2 separate regions of the Homo sapiens genome follow, and region 2 is linked to region 1. The links are contacts of gene promoters, found by promoter capture Hi-C in human tissues and cell types (Jung and others, 2019). All regions are on one chromosome and are shown on one strand. Each heading gives the region's core, a stretch centred on a gene start or on the middle of the fragment in contact. The rest is flanking DNA. Distances are from core to core; before and after follow the strand shown.

The links. Contacts are between HindIII fragments. The study calls those that stand out against the background at their distance.
Region 2: the fragment with the promoter of ACTRT2 here is called in contact with the fragment with the promoter of PEX10 in region 1 in 1 of the 25 tissues and cell types used here (H1 embryonic stem cells).

The regions. Positions count from the first base shown.
Region 1 is chr1:2,408,461-2,413,933 of GRCh38, forward strand. It overlaps PEX10 (peroxisomal biogenesis factor 10), which reads right to left and starts at 4,104. Exons shown (of 6, transcript NM_002617.4): 1 at 3,931-4,104; 2 at 1,911-1,991; 3 at 1-398. The coding sequence starts at 4,042. RefSeq lists enhancers at 222-722, 2,751-3,331, 3,332-3,912, 3,913-4,493, 4,494-5,073 and silencers at 3,690-4,069, 4,230-4,829. The HindIII fragment of the contact is 18,898 bases long and covers 1-5,473 here.
Region 2 is chr1:3,018,562-3,024,284 of GRCh38, forward strand. It overlaps ACTRT2 (actin related protein T2), which reads left to right and starts at 2,906. Exons shown (of 1, transcript NM_080431.5): 1 at 2,906-4,342. The coding sequence starts at 3,126. The coding sequence ends at 4,259. The HindIII fragment of the contact is 18,700 bases long and covers 1-5,723 here.

The DNA.
Region 1 (5,473 bases), core at 2,854-5,353:
CCCCGTGAGCCTCTTGGCCAGGTGGTAGAAGACACCGTGGATGTAAAACCAGGCAACATGTAGCCGCTGGAGGCAGGCGAGGCCCTGTCTGAGGACGAAGACCGCCCGCAGCAGCGCCCTCCTCTGCTGCTCAGTCAGGGTGGCCGTGTGGTGACGCATCCAGCGCCGCGCCCCTGAGCAGCCACGCCCACCTGGCCCCAGGCTCCCCTGCAAGGGTCGCCCACTGTCGGGGTCAGCCTGCAGCTCCTGCTCCAGGGGGAGCAGGGCCTTGTCCAGCAGGTAGGGCAGGACGGCATGCAGTGTCACCAGCACGCCACGGCGCAGCGAGGAGGGCACATGTATCCGCGATGGGTCCACCTGGATGATGCTGACGTACTCCTCCCCCAGGGTCTGGTAGCCTGCGAGGAAGAGGATGGGTATGTGGACCCTGAGACTGCTGCCGCGGGGACAGGCTCCCGGCGCCCCTGCCAGCCGACCCTCTGCTGGCTCCTGTCAACAGCCCCATCTTGTCGCCCTTGAGCCCACTGTCACCCCGTGCTGGCTGAGGCCAACATGACCTTCTGTCGCTAAGCCCACTGTGAGCTCAGGCAGCACATGACAGGCCCGGCCAATGGCTGCCCTTGGCTCCCAGGGCCTTGGCTGGCCAGTGTCCCTCCCTCTCTTGGCTTCTCCCCAAGAGTCTCTGCTCTTTCCCCTTTCTCCCTAGCTGTCCCCGCCACCTCCCCCAGCCCAAGCACTCGGATCCAGTCCCATGGCTCTCCACCAACCACACAGCTGGCACCACCCGATTTATGCCCAGCCTGGACCTTACTTGTGAGTGCCAGCCATGCAGGTCCGCCACCTACCTGACATCGCCATGTATGCTCAGATGAGCACCCCAATTCCACCCCTGCCGAGACAGCTTTCAGCGCCCCCACCCAGAAAAGCCTGCTCCCCGTTTCCATCTCTGTGGATGGCAACGCCAGGCCTCCGGTTCCTGAGGTCAAGCCCAAGGGGCACCCTGCATGCACCTTCCCTGTGTGTTCCACCCCCTCGCTGCCGCCCCTGCTCTGTACCACCACCATCCTGTGGGGGACTGTCACAGCCTCTGTAGTCTCCCTGAGCCCAACTTTGTCCCCTGAGGTCTGGTCTTAGCTAGTGGTCGGCCTCTCCCCTGCCCACGTCCCTGGAATGCCCCAAGCCTCGCACAGGGAAAGCTATGGGCTTACAAAACTCACGAGCCCCCCGGGGTCATTCTCCCAAACCGCCAAGGACGTGTTCTTCTCAGGGCCTTTCCCGGCTGCTTGCTCTGCCGGTCTGGAAAATGCTCTTCCCTAAGACGTGGTCTTTATCTCTGAGAGCCCCTCACTTCCCAAGATGCTCTGTGACGCAGCCACATCTGTCTCCCGCCCACCGAGCACACTCTCCATGGCGGCAGGATGCCCGGGGCGAGCCCCTCGTAGGGAACCAGGCTGGCACTCGGTGGTCCTTGCTACATGCTGAGCTGGGGTTGGGAGCCTGAGAGCTTCTGTCAACAACTCCCTCTAAAGGGTGGTGACCAGCCTGGGCCACAGACCCACCACTGCTCCACCAGGGCACTGTCACACGGGCACTGCACCCTATGACATGGCTCAGCACTGTGACTCACTGGTGCCACCAGGGCTGGCCACTGAGAAATGGGTCTCAGTGGCACCCGGGGTAAAGTCTTAAACAAAGAACCCCAGGGACACACAAAGGCTGGAAAAGTCGGCTCCCTGCTGGGAGCAGATGCCTCGCCTCCCTCGGAGCAGTACCTCCTGCACTTCCCTGAAGCAACCTCACCCGGGCCAGCTCCAGGAGCTTCTCACACTGCCTGGCAGCCCCCTGGCCACCGTCCCCAGACTTGGTGTGTGTGGCTGCCCTCAGTCCTGAGGTCCCGTGGGAGCTTCTACCTGCAAGTGTGGTGAGGCCAAAGTAGGCCACATCTGAGAGCAGCTCAACCTCCTTCCTCCACTCCAGCCACTTCCTCGCACCTGAGAGGAGAAACAGTATTAGTCCGGGGGAGCTGGTGGGCATCCTCTGAGGATGAGGGACCACAGTCCTCCCCCAGTTGTCTAGGCCCAGATCCAGTCCCACCCCTTCCATGAAGCCAACACTCACTCCCTGGCCTCCCTCTCTGCTTCTGTCTCCGGAGGCACCACCTTGACTTGCCTTAGCGTGAGCTGCAGACAGTCTGCGAAGAATCTCCCACCTGTGCTCATCTCTTGCTCCGGGATTCCCCTGAGCAACTGTTCTAGGGCCTATGAGGGCCACATGGAAAGATGGTCTGGGGTATTAAGATTACAGGCCAGAGGCCAACTGTCTAGCATCAAAAAGCAGCTCTCCAACTTGCTGGCTGTGAGGTCTTTCTGGAATCTCAATTTGCTCATCTATCAGAAGAGTAATAAGTCCTACTTGGAGGGATGTTTGAAGATTCAATATTTGTAAAACACTGGGAACAGTGTCTGGCACAGGGGTAAGTGCCAAGTGTACTGTAAAACAAGTAAGTACACACACAAAAAATTCTCATCATGTCACTCTCCTGTTCAGAATCCACCAATGGCTGCCCACCTGACACCCATGGGCCTCCCGGCACGGAGCCTGGCTGTCCTCTGATATTTACCCATGCTCTTCCTGTCCCATGGCACTGTTCCTTTGGCCACGACACCCCCACCACTGGGCTCTAGTGCCACTGCTCCCTGAAACGTTCTGCTGGGAGTTCATGCCTTTAACGACTGCCTGCCCCACCCCCCAAAGACTTGATGGCTTTGCCTTTTTTTTTTTTTTTTTTTTTTTGAGATGGAGTCTCACTCTGTTGCCCAGACTGGAGTGCAGTGGCACGATCTTGGCTTACTGCAACCTCCGCCTCCCGGGTTCAAGTGATTCTGTCTCAGCCTCCCAAGTAGCTGGGATTACACGCACGCGCCACCACGCCCTGCTGATTTTTGTATTTTTAGTAGAGACGGGGTTTCACCATGTTGTGTAGACTGGTCTCGAACTCCTGACCTCAAGTGATCCACCCGCCTCGGCCTCCCAAAGTGCTGGGATTACAGGCGTGAGCCACCACACCCGGCATCTTTTTTTTTTCGTTTTTTAATCGGTGATGGGGTCTGGCCCCGTCGCCCAGGCTGGAGTGCAGCGGCACAATCATGGCTCACTGCAGCCTCATCCCTCGGGCTCAGGCGATTCTCTTGCCTCAGCCTCCTGAAGAGCTGGGATTACAGACGCCGCCACCACGTCCGGCTAATTTTCAGATTTTTTGTAGAGACGGGGTCTTGCCATGTTGCCCAGGCTGGTTTCAAACTCCTGGGCTCAAGCGATCCTCCCGCCTCTGCCTCCCAAACTGCTGGGATGACAGGTGCTGCTTCATTGAGTACACTGGCTTCTGTACTCAGCTCCCGGCCTGGTGAGGCAGGCAGGGCCTGGCTGAGCCTACACTGGGGTCAGCAGGGCGAGGGGCCTGGGCTGCTGCTCAGGCCTAGGAAAGGCCGGGGTCAGTGTGAACCGGACCGAGGTATGAGGCGTTCGCGCCGCGGGCGCTCTGACCCCTCTGCTCACAGGGGAGGATCGGAGGGAGGCTTGAAGCACTTGCCAAGGCCTCACACCTGGAGGGGACAGAGTCTTCCCCAGCCGCTGGCGTCAGCTGGACCTGCCCTGAGCTGGGGACGGGAAGGGCTTGGGCGGGAACTGGAGGCCCACGCAGGTCCCCCGCGGTGTCTGCGGCCTGTGCCTCTGGGGCCACCTGGCCAGGGAGGGCAGGAGGTGCCCCGCACATCCCTGAATGGCCGCAGGGCAGGCGAAGGAGACTGCCGGGTCCCAGGTTGTGGGACGGGCCCAGGCGACCGTGACCACACACGGCAGACACCCCGCCTCCATGAGGGGCAACACCCCCTGGGCCGCTCGCGAGGACGTCCGGCCGCGCCCGGCCCTCACCCGCCAGGCTGTGCAGGGCGCCGCCCGCCGCGCTCCGCAGCCCACCGCGGTAGTACTCGTCCTTCTGCGCCGCGCGGATCACCTCCGGGGGGCTGGCGGCGGCCGGGGCCATGGCCGCGGGTTCGGGTGGTCCCGAGCAGCCACGCCGGCCACGCCCACGCCCAGACGGGCGAGAACTGATGACGGCACGACGTGGCTCTGCGTGCGGCGCAGACCTCTGCGTCAAGGTGCTGGGGCGGGGCCGGACTGGGGCTGGAGGCGGGGCCAGGGCCCGGGCGGAAGCGGGGCTGGAGTCCGAACCAGCGCAGCGCGGGGCGGGGCAGCGGGAAGGTAGTCGGAGGCGCAGGGCGGAGCGGAGCGGGGCGGGGCCCGCGAGCCGAGGTGGGGGCGGGGCACGCGCGAGGGGCGCTGGCGAGGCAGCGGGATGGGCTCGCGGCCGCGTGGTTGCTGCGACCTCGGGGTCCTACGCTGCCAGGGGCCCCTGCTCTGCTCCCTGCACGTCCACGGGCCGCCCTCCCACTGGGGACAGCGCTGCGGAGTGGAGACGCTGCAGGCCCATTTACGGCTGGGGAGACGGAGGCTTTCGCTTGGGTCTTCGGGAAGCCGAGCTCCCAGCGCCGGCCGCGGCGGTCCCGCCCTCGCGCCCTTTGAGCTGCGCGGGCTCTCAGCGCGGGTTGGCCAGTTCCGGGGAGCCGGTCGGTTTGGGGGCCAGAGGGGCACGAGGCGAGACCCGGGACCTTCCAGGCCCCGAGCAGCCGCCTTCCCCAGTAATCCTGCGCGAAAAGCACACGGCCGGCTTGGTGTGGACGCCCCCCTGGTGCCCACGGGAGGCAGGGCCTGGCGGGTGGGGGGCAGCCGGGAAGCCGCCGCGTGGTTCCAGGACGGGCGGAAGGTGGCCTTCCACCCTCCACCCTCCACCCTGCCTGGCCTGAGCCCCGCAGGTGCTCTGGGGAACCACATCGCAGGCGCTCCGATCCCTCTGCTCCCAGGGGACGAGCGGAGGGAGGCCTGAAGCACTTGCCAAGGCCGCACACCTGGAGGGGACAGAACCTTCCCCAGCCGCTGGCCACAGCTGGACCTGCCCTGAGCTGGGGGTGGGAAGGGCTGGGGCGGGAACTGGAGGCCCACGCAGGTCGCCTGCGGTGTCTGCGGCCTGTGCCTCTGGGGCCGCCTGGCCAGGGAGGGCAGGAGATGCCTGGTACATACCTGAATGGCTGCAGGGCAGGTGAAGGAGAAGGCCCTGTTTTTTGGCCCCAAGGGCAGCACTTGGCCCTGGAGAGTCCTGCAGGATTGCAGGAGGAAGGCAGGGCACGACAAGGGGGCGTCTGCGCCCCGCTGACCTCAGTGGGGAGGGCCTCCAGTTCCTTGCCTCACCTCTGGTTCCATCTACAGGAGCTCAGCTGTGGGATCATCCCCAGACTGGCACAGCCCAGTCACAAAGCCAGAGCCCCACACTGCAGGAATGGCCCCTCTTACAGGGAAGGGGCATGGCCTGGGTGGCCCCGCCCCGCAGGCCCTCTGGCTACCAAACCTCCCAGCGCCC
Region 2 (5,723 bases), core at 1,656-4,155, 610 kb after region 1:
GAGGCTGGGGAAGCAGCCGGGCCGGGGAGGGCGGGGGCGGGGGCCTGTGTGTTTTTGCAGGACATGCACAAGGGTAAGAGGCTGTGCCCGGGGTGCTGTGACTGTGCCTTGTGACAGCAACAGGGGATGGAGGAACCTCAGAAGCCCCACAACACCCCACCGGGAGCTCAGCAGCCCAGGCTTAGCGGCGTCTGCCTCCTCCTCTGTCCTGCCTGCAAATGCCCAAGACCCCAGCCCGCCCAGGGCCACCTCAAAGCATCTGTGTGCCTGACCCAAGAGCCCTCCGCACCAGCATTGCCACTGCCTCCCACTGTGGCCACCGGCAGAGCCAAAATCTAGAAAGCATCGGAGCACGTTCCTCTCAGCTCAGCCCCGAGTATTGGGCGACACTGACGCACTTCCAGCCACACCTGAGAACCAAGGATGCAGACCCTCTGTGATGGCTGCAGGCTGGAACCCCAAGGCGCAGCAGCCAGCCAGGGAATGCTCTCCCCAAAATGTGAGACTCGAAACCTTAGCAATCCCCACAGGTTGGTGGTGGACCTGGACTGTGCAGAGCCGGGGTCTGGGAGACAACACAGCAGGCTTAGTCGTCCCAGCCTTGCGGGCCCTTCCCAGGCCAAGGCCATCTCTACAAGGTAGACAGGGCTTAGCCGGGGGCTGTGGGCAGAGAGGGCTCAGCCGGGGGGGCACGTACCATCCCTGAGCGGCACTCTCTCGCCCTCCTGGGTAAACCTGGTGCCCATCTGGGGCCATCTCTGGTAGCATCGGCTGATGTTGAGCCAGTGCTCAGCAGGGCATGTGACTGAGAGGGACCTTGCCCCTCTGCAGAGCCAGGAGAGAGCCTCCCAGATCCTGTCCCAGGGCTTCAAAGGGCCAGCCTTGTGGACAGCCACACCTCTGCCAGGACCCCAGGTTGTGCAGGTCAGCAGGGATGGGCCCACTTGTATTTCCCAGGACTGGCGCCTGTGGTCTCCTAGTTCAGCGAGGAGGGAACCCTTCCCGCGCAGGGTGGTCCTTCTGTTGTGAATGTGGCTGCATGGGACAGCCAGAAAGGCATTGGAGGATGAGTCACCTCGCAGCCTGGGACCTGCCTGGAAGATGACCTTCGAGGGGGGCACCATTTGCCCGTGCACGCTATCGAACAGGAGCGGGGTTGGGATGGCGCCTGCCCCTGGAAGATGGCGTTCAAGGGGGGCACCCTCTGCCCGTGCCTGCTATCGAACAGGAGCAGGGTCGGGATGGTGCCTGCCCCTGCCCCGGGACACTCTCCGTGTCCCCCAGCACAGGCCTCAGGTGACCTTCAGCAGGACCTGCGGGGTGACCTTGATGTGGGCAGGGAGGAGCTCCAGCGTCTGGGTCAACAGGTTTCGAAGGAGGCCTCAGGGCCCTAGGCCGTGCCCATGGGTCAGTGCCTCCGTCCACACCTACTGCCTCAGGGAGCCCGGGGTCTCTGAGACGACTGCAAGCAAGCTGTGTGGTGGCTGCCACAGTTTCCAGAGAAATGGAGATTTAAGAGCCACACCTGCCCTGGCACGCTTTTGACTCAGTTTCCCTCTGGGGGGGTCCCCTCTAGGAAAATCCTTCAATAATCAAGTTTTTGTTGACTACCACCCAGGGATTAGTGGGGCCCACAAAACCACGTGTCAACAAGACACATCTACACCACACATCAACAACGAGTGTACCGCGCGTGTCTACACCACCCATCTATCCCATGCATCTACACGGCACATCCATATGCGTCTGTACCTCGTGTCTACACCACATGTCTGTACCACGTGTCTAGACTGCCCATCTACAACATGTGTCTACACCACCATCGGATTAATGCCTGCTGGTGGGTCAGCAGGGCAGGCAGGACACACAGAGGGGGCCACCAGCAGGAGCTGAGGGGCTCCAGGAAGGGAGTGACCCCGGGAGGCGTCCTCTGGGAGAACTCTGGGGGGCCAAGCTGGGCTGGAGCATGATTGTGGATATGACAGGAGAGGTAGAATAAACCTCACATTCTCCAAGGCCACCTCCAACCTCCTTAGGAAAAAAGTGAAGCTGGTTCCCAGGTTGGATCCCCTCCCACTTTCTCCCCAAGCGGAAGACAAAGCGGGGGTCTGAGTGCCGGGCGTGCACTGTTGTGGGTGCCCTTGGCCTGGCCCGGTGCCTCCTTCCTGGTCATGCTCAGGCCTTGACCTTTAATGGCCTGGTCACCTCTGAGCATTGCTCTGTGGTTGTGGCCTGACTGTGTGGCAGCTCATAGACACAGAGAGGTGTCACAGGCTGCAATCCAGGCTACCCATGTGAAACCAGCAGGCCATATCTTCAGGGCTGTTGGGTTCCCAACTCTATGGCTGCTGGACTTTGTTGTGTGCTGGCACTTCAGAGTCTGCAGAGAGGAATGAGGGGTGCTGGCCTCAAGCCAGAGCAGAGATGTATTCCTGGACAAAGGGCCAGCAGCCCAGAGGGCTTTGAATAGGGTCTACCCAGTGGGACAGACAGCCAGGACTAATGGGATGGAGGGAGGAGAAATCCCTGAGAGCTTCCTGGGGGAATCACTATTCAAAAGCACATTCTAAGTGCCTGCTGGGACAGAACTGCTTACAACACCCCTCCGACCTGGTGCTTGGTTTTCCCCCTTAGCAAAGGGAAGTGTTGTCACCCCAGAAGTTGCAGCTCAGGGGCCAGAGAAGCTGGTTTTCTAGGGTGCACGCAGGCTGGGCTGCTTCTCTCCACTCTAAAGCTAAGTCTCTGCCTCAGCCCACAGGCTTGTCCAGCACCGCCCTAGGATGCACTTGTCTCTCTCTCTCTCTCTCACCTCACCCTGTGGGGGATGGGGGACTCAGAGCCCCACCCCCAGGGCCTCTGAGGCTCAGGACAATCGTTGCCTTGGCTAGATTGTTACCTAGGAGACAACCCCCTGGCCCCCTGGAAGAGGCCTCAGCAGGCCCAGGCCACCTGGAGGGAGAGCAGACCTGCGGCTGAGGATGCAGGGCTCCCGGGCACGGTGCTAGCCCTGCCTTGAGACACCCCGAGAGCTGTGGGAAGAGCTGTGGGATCCCCTATTGCATCACAAAGCGGCCCTGGAGGGCTGGTCTTTATTTTGATGAGGCTGAGAAGGGAAGGCTGCGGGCATGTTTAATCCGCACGCTTTAGACTCCCCGGCTGTGATTTTTGACAATGGCTCGGGGTTCTGCAAAGCGGGCCTGTCTGGGGAGTTTGGACCCCGGCACATGGTCAGCTCCATCGTGGGGCACCTGAAATTCCAGGCTCCCTCAGCAGAGGCCAACCAGAAGAAGTACTTTGTGGGGGAGGAGGCCCTGTACAAGCAGGAGGCCCTGCAGCTGCACTCCCCTTTCGAGCGTGGCCTGATCACAGGGTGGGATGACGTGGAGAGACTCTGGAAGCACCTCTTTGAGTGGGAGCTAGGCGTGAAACCCAGCGACCAGCCCCTGCTTGCAACGGAGCCCTCCCTGAACCCCAGGGAGAACCGTGAGAAGATGGCAGAAGTCATGTTCGAGAACTTCGGCGTGCCCGCTTTCTACCTGTCGGACCAGGCGGTGCTGGCTCTCTACGCCTCTGCCTGTGTCACGGGCCTGGTGGTGGACAGCGGGGATGCGGTCACCTGCACTGTCCCCATCTTTGAGGGTTACTCCCTGCCCCACGCAGTCACCAAGCTCCACGTGGCGGGCAGGGACATCACGGAGCTCCTCATGCAGCTGCTCCTGGCCAGCGGCCACACCTTCCCCTGCCAGCTGGACAAGGGTCTCGTGGACGACATCAAAAAGAAGCTGTGCTACGTGGCCTTGGAGCCCGAGAAGGAGCTTTCCCGGAGGCCGGAGGAGGTCCTGAGGGAGTACAAGCTGCCCGACGGGAACATCATCAGCCTCGGGGACCCGCTGCACCAGGCGCCCGAGGCCCTGTTCGTGCCCCAGCAGCTGGGCAGCCAGAGCCCCGGGCTCTCGAATATGGTCTCCAGCAGCATCACCAAGTGTGATACCGACATCCAGAAGATCCTCTTTGGGGAGATTGTGCTGTCGGGGGGCACTACCCTGTTCCACGGGCTGGATGACCGGCTTCTCAAGGAGCTGGAGCAGCTGGCCTCCAAGGACACCCCCATCAAGATCACGGCTCCCCCCGACCGGTGGTTCTCCACCTGGATTGGAGCCTCCATCGTCACCTCTCTGAGTAGCTTCAAGCAGATGTGGGTCACCGCCGCAGACTTCAAGGAGTTTGGGACCTCCGTGGTGCAGAGAAGATGCTTCTGAAGGCCGCTTCTCGTTGGGTACCGTGGGGGGTGAACCCTAGCCCCAGCTTTGGGAGGATGTTCAATAAAGGACCAATGCCGGAACACCTGGCCACCTCGGCTCAGTTCCTTCTTGGGGGCGGCAGAGTCATTTCTGGCCCTGACAGTGAATCTGTGAAGTGTCTTGGTCCACACCCGCTCCCCTTCGCTTCCTCCCAAGAAAGCCTGGGCTGAGGCCAGGCTGTGTCCATCTGCAGTTTGTATGAAAGTAGGGCCCTGGGCCTCAGGTGAATAGGGCGCTGGAGTCCGCATTCTAAACAAGGGTCTTAGGTGGGCTGAGAGAGTCGGCAGGGATGGTGGGGACTAGCGCGTGCACCAGGTTCTGACGGCTCAGCAAGAAACCCCTCCCTGTGTGGGCCCTACCTAGCATGCCAGGGCCGGGGCTCTGCTTGTGTGAGGCCGGGCGGCTGAACAGGGTGGAGCTGCCGCTCTCAGCAGATAGGAACAGACGGGAACAGAAGTCACCGTTTGTTTAGGGCCCTCTAAACTCAGGGGTCCTGCTCCCAAAGGAAGTACAAAGAATCAACACTTCTGCTTAGCAAGTGTGATTCTTCTGTTTGTTTTTACTTTCAGTGATGTTTATAGCATCATTGTTTGGGGGCAGAATGCTGGAAACAAAGTTAATGGCCATCACCAATGTTAACGGTTGAGTAAATTATGCATGGAGGGAATTTTTCCACATTGATGTGGTGGAATTAACCCAAAATATTATTGGGAGAGAAGTGGAAAATACAGATAACTCTTTACGCCATGGTCCTTCCCTTGGTTTTTTGGAAAAGAAAACAGCGCCCCTTCCCCATGTCTTTGCCTATGTCCGCTGCTTCGTGTGGACCCATACCTGTGTTCTATGTGGTTACCAAGTGCATGCACTGTGGGTTCCAGCATGTCGCCAAGGGAAGAGGGAGGGAGACGCAATGCAGGCGGAAAGAAGAAAGGAGAAAAAAGTACTCAGGAAATTCAGCCTGAATGAAATAAACCCATTTACCTGAAATGCGTGTGTCTTTCAATCTTCACAAAGTGCATCTTTTTCCACCATTTCACTTTCAACCGACCTATGCTGTTGGAAGTGAGCATGGGGCTGGTGTGAAGACGGCGTATAGCTGGGTCGTTTTCTTATCCACCCTACCAATCTCTGCCTTTCAGTTGGTGTATTTAGTCCATTTACCTGGTAACTCATTGATACACGGAATCTCAAGTCTGCCATCTGATCACTCTCTGCTGTGTCTTCTGCTTCTCATTCCTGTTTCTCTTTTCTTACCTCCCTCTGGGTTACTGGAACATGTTTCAGGATTGTGTCTTGATTTATTTAGCGTGTTTAGAGTACCTCGTTTTTGTAGGTTTCTTAGTGGTCACCCTGGGTATTACGCCGTATATGCCGGGATGTATATGATGTCACAAGCTACGGGCATTGACATGGTACCATTAG